Regions from separate parts of the Homo sapiens genome. Here all the other regions are linked to region 1. Evidence: promoter capture Hi-C in 16 types of primary human blood cells and fetal thymus (Javierre and others, 2016). All regions are on one chromosome and are shown on one strand. The core of a region is centred on a gene start or on the middle of the fragment in contact, and the rest is flanking DNA. Distances in the headings are between cores, read along the strand shown. Region 1 holds the start of SDS (serine dehydratase). Region 2 has its middle 17 kb from the start of DTX1. Region 3 overlaps RBM19 (RNA binding motif protein 19).

Region 1 (3,306 bases), core at 576-3,075:
AATTCATGAGACCTTGTTCGCCATAATATGAAACTTTCCTTCAGATTTGACCAAGTCAAATGGAGTTGGTCCAGTCCAATGGGGAAAAGACAGAAGCAACAAAACAACAACAGAAACAAAAACAGTTAAGCAAGGGAAACAAACAATCAAGCAATTTATACGATTACTGCACGCTCTAAAAGTAGGGAGAAATTAAGACCAGCTGGTTGTTAACCCTAACTTCTAGTCATGGGGCCCAGGCTGAAGACCGCTCTCTACCATCCTAGAAGCGGGGAAATCTCAAACTTGCCTTCCCTGCCGGACACAAGCGAAACTCCAGAAAGGAGCTGCCTGCTTGCCATCATCATGGAAGCCAGAAAACTCACCTTCCTTGTTGGAAGTGAGTAAAACGCAGAAAAGGAGCTGTTCAGGGAAATCAAGCTTAGATATCAACCAATTGTGGGAGATCAGGAGTTCTCTGGAGGTGGGGAGCTCCCAGGCCTCAGCAAACTGTCCTATTTTGGAGGGCAATCAAGATCGCTCAAGGCCGGCATGGTGGCTCACGCCTGTAATCCCAGCACTCTAGGAGACTGAGGCGGGTGGATCACTTGAGGTCAGGACTTCAAGACCAGCCTGGCTAACATGGTGAAACCCCATCTCTACTAAAAATACAAAAAATTAGCTGAGTGTGGTGGCACATGCCTATACTCCCAGTTATTTGGGGGGTTGAAACAGGAGCATCGCTTGAACCCAGGAGATGGAGGTTGCAGTGAGCCAAGATCATGCCATTGCACTCCAGCCAGGGTGACAGAGCAAGACCCACCAAGCACCAGTAGGAGACTTGTCAAAGGTCAGGGCCACCTCCACCCAGGGTCCCTTTCATGAGTCTCCAATCTGTAAATCAAAAAGAATCAAAAAGATTGAGACAGGACTCAATCCATTTAGAAATTTATTTCGCCAGGGTTAAGAATGCACCTGGGAGACAGGTCTGTGCTTTTCTCCAGAGATGACTTTAGGTGTCAGTATTTAAAGGAGAAAAGCAAGCTGGAGGGGAAAGAAGGAGGCTATGGCCACATTACCAAATCCACAGTTTGTAAGAGAAGAGGGGCAGATAGGGAAGTAGCCAATTATGTATTTGTCTTGATCTCAATAAATCGGCACTTTACATAAGATAAGGTGAACATAGAGTAGCGACCTGTGGAGATATTTAACTTTTTTTTTTCTTTCTGTTGTGAAGGCTGGAGTGCAGTGGCGAGATCTAGTCTCACTGTAACCTCTGCCTCCCAGGTTCAAGCAATTCTTGTGCCTCAGCCTCCTGAGTAGCTAGGATTACAGGCACGTGCCACCACACCCGGCTGATTTTTGTATTTTTAGTAGAGACGGGATTTCACCATGTTGGCCAGGCTGGTTTCGAATTCCTGACCTCAGGTGATCCACCCGCCTCGGCCTCCCAAAATGCGGAGCCAATATTTAACCTTTCATCTGAAGCTATCTGCTTAGGAACTAAAGGAAAGGCAGTTTCTTACATGACTCAGCTTTTAGCTTAATTCTTTTTCTTTTGGCATAGTGAGTTGGGGGTCCCAATTTTTTATTTTCCTTTCACGAAACTGAGGACAGAAAGGGGAAGTGGAAAGAGGGAGGAGGAGTGGGTTGTGGGAAAGGCAGGAGGAAGCTGCCAAAGAAGAAAGCTTGGCCAGATTCCACCTCCCTTCTGACAGCCTCAGTGGCCTCAAGCCAGGGGGGTGGGTCCTGGCAGGAGGGAGGGGGGGGTGTAGCCAGCCCCAGGGCCCCATTGGCTGCCCAGAGGTGCCAGAGGAATAAAGCCCAGGACCAAGTAGCCCCTGGGACCATTCAGAAGACTGTCCACCCGTCCTCAGCCCCCTCTCTTCGTGGGCTATCTACTCAGTTGATCCCTCCCTCGCTGGCTTGGCTCTGACTCCTGCTCAGACCCATCACCTTTGCCGGGTAAGTGGCCCCATCCTCAGTCCCACCTCAGGACTGGAGTGTCCCGGGCTAGCCTGTGGTTTCCCAGGGGAAGAGGGAGACATAGAAAGAGTCTGTCAAGGCTGGGCATGGTGGCTGATGCCTGTAATCCCAACACTTTGGAAGGCTGAGGTGGGAGGGTTGCTTGAGGCCACAAGTTCAAGACTGAGCTGGGCAACAGAGTGAGACCCCCCCCAATCTCTACAAAAAAAATTTTTTTTTTTTAAGACAGAGGTCTCACTCTGTCACCCAGGCTGAAGTGCAATGGCACAATCTGGGCTCACTGCAACCTCCACCTCCTGGGTTCAAGCGATTCTCCTGCCTCAGCCTCCCGAGTAGCTTGGACTACAGGCGTGTGCCACCACGCCCGGCTAATTTTTGTATTTTTAGTAGAGATGGGGTTTCACCATGTTGGCCAGGCTGGTCTCGAACTCCTGACCTAAAAAAAGAATTTAATTAGTATAGTGTGGTGGTGCACACCTGTAGTCCCAGCTACTGGGAAGGCTGAGTTGGGAGGATCGCTGGAGCCCAAGAGGTCGAGTCTGCAGTGAGCAATTATTGCGCCCCTGCACTCCAGCCTGGGTGACACAGCAAGACCTTGTCTCAAATTTTTAAAAAACAGCCATTTGGGCCTAAACACTGAGTTTGTGTCCAGTTCTGTGCCTCAGCTTCCACATCTGTAGAATGGGGATGAGCATAGCGCCTTCCTCCTCAGGTGGTTGTGACGGTGAAAGGATGACCTGCACTTAAGGTGTCCAGCCCAGATTTCATAATAGTTCATATCGACTGAGCACTTACTGTGAACCAAGTGAAAGGGAAGGTGGCTTCCGACTGCCGGAGTGGGCAGACAGCGGCTTCAGGGCTCCCTCCCTCCTCCTCCCCGGGCACAACCTCTTCTGAAGTCTTGCGATCCTTGGGGCAGGGATCCTTGGGGCAGGCTGGATGCAGTTAATGGATGCTCACTTCACGGAAAGCCGCGGCAGAGGGAGCCCTGTCCTTTTACCTGAAGGCATCCCATGGCACCGCCTGGGACAAACGGCGAGAGAGGCGCCCCAAACCCACCTGAAAAGGGTCTTCGTGGCCGGCTCCTCTGACTCCCACCCCGATTGTCCCTGAGGCCAGGCCTTGGTGACCTACACCGGCCTTTAATGTCAAGTCAGTCGGTGTGGTGGCTCACGCCTGTAATCCCAGCACTTTGGGAGGCCAAGGCAGGCAGATGACTTGAGGTCAGGAGTTCGAGACCAGCCTGCCCAATATGGTGAAACCTTGTCTCCACTAAAAATGCAAAAATTATTCGGGCGTGGTGGTGCACGTCTGTGATCCCAGCTACTTGGGAGGCTGAGG
Region 2 (2,946 bases), core at 135-2,634, 360 kb after region 1:
TTGAGGTCAGGAGTTCGAGACCAGCCTGAGCAACATGGTGAAACCCAGTCTTTACTAAAAATAAAAAAATTAGCCAGGTGTGGTGGTGCACGTCTGTAGTCCCAGCTACTTGGGAGGCTGAGGCATGAGAATTGCTTGAGCCCGGGGGGGGTGGAGGTTGCAGTGAGCCGAGATCTCACCACTACACTCTAGCCGGGTGACAGAGCCAGACTCTGTCTCAAAAAAAATTATTAAAAGCAGAATATTTCATCATTTACCATCTACCAGGTTGCTTCACTGTCTTCTAGGCTTGGGCTTTGAGGTCTGAGTGTGCCAGGGCGTTTAATGCCAGCTGCCACAACAGACAAACCCTGGACTTGCAGTGGCGAAACACAATCAAGGCTTGCTTCTCGCTCTTCTAAGGAGGAGGGCAGCCCTTCCCCAGAGAGAGCACGTGGCCTCGGGGTCACTGTGGCAGGGCAAGAGAGCGGTGGGGCTGCTCCATTTCACAACACCAGCTCTCCATTGCCTTAACTCCCAAAGTCACATGTCAGTCTCACTCCAGTTCCAGCCCAGGAACTAGGTCAGTGGAGGCAGGGATGAGGTGGTCAGTGCTGGGTTGGGGAGGTGGAGCCTGGGACAGAGGAATCACTAATGCAAACCATGGAGTCAGGGAGGCCTCAGGGAGGAAGTGATGACTAACTCGAAGCTTGAACAGGAACTTGCCTAGGACAATCCTGGGTGTGGTCCTGGGATAAACCCTGCAGGAGATTAAGGTTTCAACATTCAGGGTGAGAAACTAAATCTGGATATCTAGAGACAGCTGCACTCCAATGCTCATTCCATCATTATTCACAATAACCAAGATACGGAAACAACCCAGGTGTTCATGGCAGACGATGGATAACGAAACCGTGGTATATACACAAAGATTATTCAGCCTTCCAAAAAGGGAAACTCTGCCATTTACAACAACCTTGATGAACTTGGAGGACATTATGCTAAGTGAAATAAGCCAAACACAAAAAGAAAAACACTGCAGGATCTCACTAGTAAGCGAAATCTAAGAGTCAAATTCATAGATGCAGAGAGTAGAAGGGCTGTATCTGGATTATCTTGAGATGGGAGATGACCCTTGAGAAAGAAGGATGGGGGTAGAACTGGGTGATTCATTGAGGATTTGGCGGACCCAGGAGACATTACCCTGACACATTCAGATCCCAAAACCCTAGCCTAGAAGATAGCGAAGAATCTCTTGGCTGGGGTTCTCAGCCTGGGGATCACAGACTCCTTTGAACTTGGATGGGGAAAGTGATATCTTTATTCTCATTAACTGTGAATTGAAAGACAGCATTTCCTTCTACTATGAACATAGGCAACAAACCACAATGGTGTGAGTAGCGTCTGACTGTGTCATGAATAGAATCCTATAGTTTCCTATTACATTTCACTTGTTGGTGCTGTCTCAAAATATATTGCTTTTACTCATCACTGCTTTGAAGTATTACAGTAATTAGACTGGGATCTTCATTTTATTTTATTTTTTGAGATGGAGTCCCACTCTGTTGCCCAGGCCAGAGTGCAGTGGCGCAATCTCAGCTCACTGCAGTCTCTGCCTCCTGAGTCCAAGCCATTCTCCTGCCTCAGCCTCCCAAGTAGCTGGGATTAAAGGCGTGCACCATCACACTCGGCTAATTTTTGTATTTTTAGTAGAGATGGGGTTTCGCCATATTGGCCAGGCTGGTCTTGAACTCCTGACCTCAGGTGATCCACCAGCCTCAGCCTCCCAAAGTGCTGGGATTACAGGGGTGAGCCACCTAGCCCAGGTTATTTTAACACAGCCTGAATTAATTGTAGCTCAAGAGGGGTGCCCCTAACAACCTGCAGCTGAGGAGTCTTGCTGAGATCTGCCAGGCTTTGGGCAGCACTGGTGCAGTGGACTGAATGTCTATGTCTCCTCAACCCCTAAATTCATACATTGAACTCCTAACCCACAGTGTGATGGTGTGAGGAGGTGATGTGAGAAGGTGATTAAGTCATGCAGGTGGGGACTTCATGAATGGGATTAGTGCCCTTATAAAAGGATCCCTGGAAAGCTTCCTTACCCCTTCAGCCATATGAAGACACAGAGAGAAGGCAGCTACCTATGAACCAGGCAGCTACCTATGAACCAGGAAGAAGGCCTTCATCAGACACCAAATCTGCAGACGCCTTGATCTTGTATTTGCCAGTCTCTGGAACTATGAGCACCACATTTCTGTAGTTTCTAAGCCACCCAGTCTATGTATTTTGTTATGGCAGTCCTGAAAGTAACCCCCGTTGGTGAGGGTCTTTCTCTGGGTCTTAAATCAGCATGACTGCAATGGGAGGCACCCAGCCTGGGTGGGGGGGCTGCACCCCGGCTTCAGGGCTCAGTGGGAAGACTTTGGGGGCTTCTTATCATTCAAGGGAGAACAGCTCTTTCTTTCTTTCTCCTTTCTTTCTTTCTTTCTTTCTTTCTTTCTTTCTTTCTTTCTTTCCTCCCTCCCTCCCTCCCTTCTTTCTTTCTTTCTCTTTCTTTCTTTCTTTCTTTCTCTCTCTTTCTCTCTCTCTCTTTCTTTCTCTTTCTTTCTTTCTTTCTTTCTTTCTTTCTTTCTTTCTTTCTTTCTTTCTCTCTCTCTCTCTCTCTCTCTCTTTCTTTCTTTCTTTCTTTCTTTCTTTCTTTCTTTCTTTCTTTCTTTCTTTCTTTCCCTTCTTTTTTTTGAGACAGAATCACTCTGTCACCCAGGCTGGAGTGCAGTGGTGCGATCTCGGTTCACTGCAACCTCCACCTCCCAGGTTCAAGTGATTCTCTTGCCTCAGTCTCCTGAGTAGCTGGGATTACAAATGTGCCCCACCACCCCCAGCTAATTTTTATATTTTTAGTAGTGACACGGTTTCATCATGTTGGCTAGGTTGGTCTCAAACTCCTGGCCTCAAGTGATCTGC
Region 3 (2,998 bases), core at 79-2,578, 510 kb before region 1:
CACCCAAGCACGGATGTGTCCCCCTGACGTCTGCAGCTGTTTTGGGTCCTATCACCTGGTGGGAGACGGCCTTCCTCTCCTTTCACGTTGGTCCCGCACCCCACGCACACTCCTTGAATCCATCACCTGAATATTCTGATGGAGGCGTAGTGGAGTCAATGTTGGGCAGGAGCTGCTGAAGCTCCGAATAACTTGGACCCTCTCCCCCCACCACTCCAGGCCAGCCGTGACATTGGCTCGGAAGAAACAAGTTCCCAGAAAGCAGACCACCTCCAAGATCCTGGTGCGGAACATCCCCTTCCAGGCCCACAGCCGGGAGATCCGAGAGCTCTTCAGGTGAGAACTTCAGGTTTAGTCCAGGGGACTGGCGTGTGGGCGGGGAGCCTGCCCGAGTCTCAGGGAAGATGGCCTTTGGGTCCTGGATGGTTCCGTTGCAGGCCGGCACAGTGGTCTTTCAAAGGTCATCTTTTGGCTGCTTTTGATTTATCTCCCTTAATCTCAGATGTGGCTCCCCAGAGCACTGTGCAGGAAAAAAGTCAAAACAGCCAGGCTTCCCCCTCTCCGAGGCAGATGGAGAAAGGGCAGGCAGGCTTCCCTGTCCCCATCCACAACGTGCAAGAGGGGCAGGGGCCCCAGTGGCTAAAACCCAGCCCTACCCATGATCTGCTTGAAATTTCCTCCATCCAGGCTACCCCTTTGGTTTAAGGTGCTGGTTTTCCACCTTAGCCACACATTCCAGCCACCTGGCAATGGCTAAAATACACCTTTCCCGAGGCTGCACCCCCAGAGAGTTGGATTCCATTTTTCAACAGTGGGGTCTAGACATCGGTGTTTTGCTAAAAGCTCCCCAGGGGATCCTAATGTCCAGCCGGGGTTGGGGACCAGTGGCCTAAATGACTCTATGGAAATGAAGGCGAATTACCTGCACACATAAAGCAGTCCGTCAGCACCTGCTTGCACAGGGGTGGAAAATGCAGCTGTCGCAGGGACCCAGCCGGTAACGGCAGCAGGCTGGGTGGGGACTGAGCAGCAGGCGGGCCTCTCTCTGGTCATCCAGCTGGGATGCCATGCAGGAACTCAGGCTTCGTAAGACCAGTTCCCATGTTTTGAAAGAGAAACCAGCCATGTGGATTCTTAAGGAGAATTCATCAGCAACTAATTCACTTTTTAAAAACAAAACAAGTCTGGCCTGCCCCAGGGCCCCTAGTTGGTGATCCCTACGCTGCCATGTTACAGTGTTTGGCTTTTCAGATTAGGTAGGCACCACCCAGCACCAAGCCATGAATGAAAGAAACGTCCTCATATCAGGGCCTAAGGGGAATGCTTGAAGCCAAGGCCCCCCCACCCAAGGCATGGGCAGGGTAATAGAGAGACCATCTAGCTCTCAGAATGCAAAGGCAGATGAAGTCAGCTTCACCTAAACACATTGTTGAGGCTTCGGTGGGATCCAGGACTGCTCGGGGGACCTGCAGCACCATGGCCTGCGCGTGGGTGAACATTTAGGATTCTAGACACTAGGTCTCGTTCGTTCATTCTACACTTGCACAAGGGTCCAAGAGTGAAGCCTCTGTTAGAGTTGCCAGTTAGCATCTTGCAAGGTAATCTGTGGTTACAAAATCAGCCTTGTGTTTTGGAGATGAGAAACAATTATCTTTGTGTGGCATCTACCTTCTTTGCTCTCACTCTGTAGTTTGAAGAATAAGAAGTCATGTGGGGAACTTCAGATATCTTTGTCCTCCTTTTCCCCTCTGTTTGTTCTAAATCATACACTAGTATTCAGTTCATAAACAGATGTGGTGTGTGGTGAGCTGGGATCTGAGGCAGAGACCAATCCTGCCAGTATCTGGGAAGCAGGATCTTAGCTATGATCTCCGGGTATCCTGCACAGCAGGAATAGCCTGGCGAGATGGGGTCATGACCTGGGGGGAGGTTTCCCATTTCCCTAAACCTCGACTGATCAGTCGTCCCTCCAGGAAGGTACATATCCTTAGCCTCTCGGTATGTCTGCTTGTTTAAACATGCTCTGCTTTTTAAAAGGAGTCCAACTTAAGAACTGCCAGATTAAAACGGGCTTGCTAAGAAGAGCGCATGTTGATCGGGAAATAATATCCCGCTGAAATGACAGTTTCACTTGGTTCTGCAGTATATTTAGGATGACACTTATCCGGGGAAACAAAAGACCACAAGGGAAGAGAGAGCACTTTGTGTGATCTCATGTATTATATTTATTTTTAGAAGACAGGGAATTAGTGTCCACTGAACATAATTACATGTGGTGACTCTTCTCCTTGCCATTGTTCTGATGAGAGTTTTCTTAAAACCCTGGAAACGTAAGACCTTCTTGGAGGGCCGTACCTGCTATTGTTGTTCACTCCGGCTGGGGATGTAAGGCAGTTCCTCGTTGCAGACAGCAGGGGTCGCTGTGAGCCTTCTCAGGGACTTCAAGATTGTCCAGGGAAGCCCCAGACAGGATTTCAGACAAAGCCACTGGCCGGTAAAGGTCATTAGCCAGGGGGAGGTTTCAGGGTTTCGGGGAACCAAGCTGGTCCATTTGGGCAGGCAGGTTCTATGGGTTTCTCCTACCAGGTGTAGTAAAAATCACAACTCCCTTTTATTACACGCTTGCTGTGTGCGGGGCTCTGAGCTTGAATGCCTTCCCGTGCAGAATCACCTCTTTTAAGCCGCACAGCAGCCCTGCGAGGGATGGATGCTGTCATTCCTTTTGCACCCAGACAGAAACTGGAGATGGAAACTAGGGAGATGGAGTGTCCTGCCTGGGACCATGCCGCTGAATGGGGATTTGGATCTAAGTCAGCCTAACCCAGAGCCCCGGCTTGGAGCCACTCCTCTCTGCTGCCTGTTTTCTTGGGTCTAGAAGGAACTGTCTTCCTCCAGATCATTCCAGTGGGACCAAATGACAGCGAGTGTGTCATTTATACCAGGCACTGTGCTAGGCACGAGGCATGTAGCCATTTCAGGAGAGACTCAGGTCTCTCTG

What was found. Contacts are between HindIII fragments. The CHiCAGO score rates a contact against its expected background, and 5 or more counts as called.
Region 2: a contact is called between a fragment that was not itself captured here and the fragment with the promoter of SDS in region 1, in 1 of 17 cell types (fetal thymus). The highest score is 5.7, in fetal thymus.
Region 3: a fragment that was not itself captured here is called in contact with the fragment with the promoter of SDS in region 1 in 1 of 17 cell types (M2 macrophages); the score reaches 5.8 in M2 macrophages.

The regions. Positions count from the first base shown.
Region 1 is chr12:113,402,406-113,405,711 of GRCh38, reverse strand. SDS (serine dehydratase) reads left to right here and starts at 1,825. Exons shown (of 8, transcript NM_006843.3): 1 at 1,825-1,944. The HindIII fragment of the contact is 9,232 bases long and covers 1,670-3,306 here.
Region 2 is chr12:113,038,542-113,041,487 of GRCh38, reverse strand. No RefSeq gene overlaps it. Among named protein-coding and RNA genes, the nearest start is that of DTX1, 17 kb to the left of the region's middle. The HindIII fragment of the contact is 1,387 bases long and covers 691-2,077 here.
Region 3 is chr12:113,912,307-113,915,304 of GRCh38, reverse strand. RBM19 (RNA binding motif protein 19) reads left to right here. Exons shown (of 24, transcript NM_016196.4): 21 at 220-336. Among named protein-coding and RNA genes, the nearest start is that of RBM19, 53 kb to the left of the region's middle. The HindIII fragment of the contact is 6,170 bases long and covers 1-2,998 here.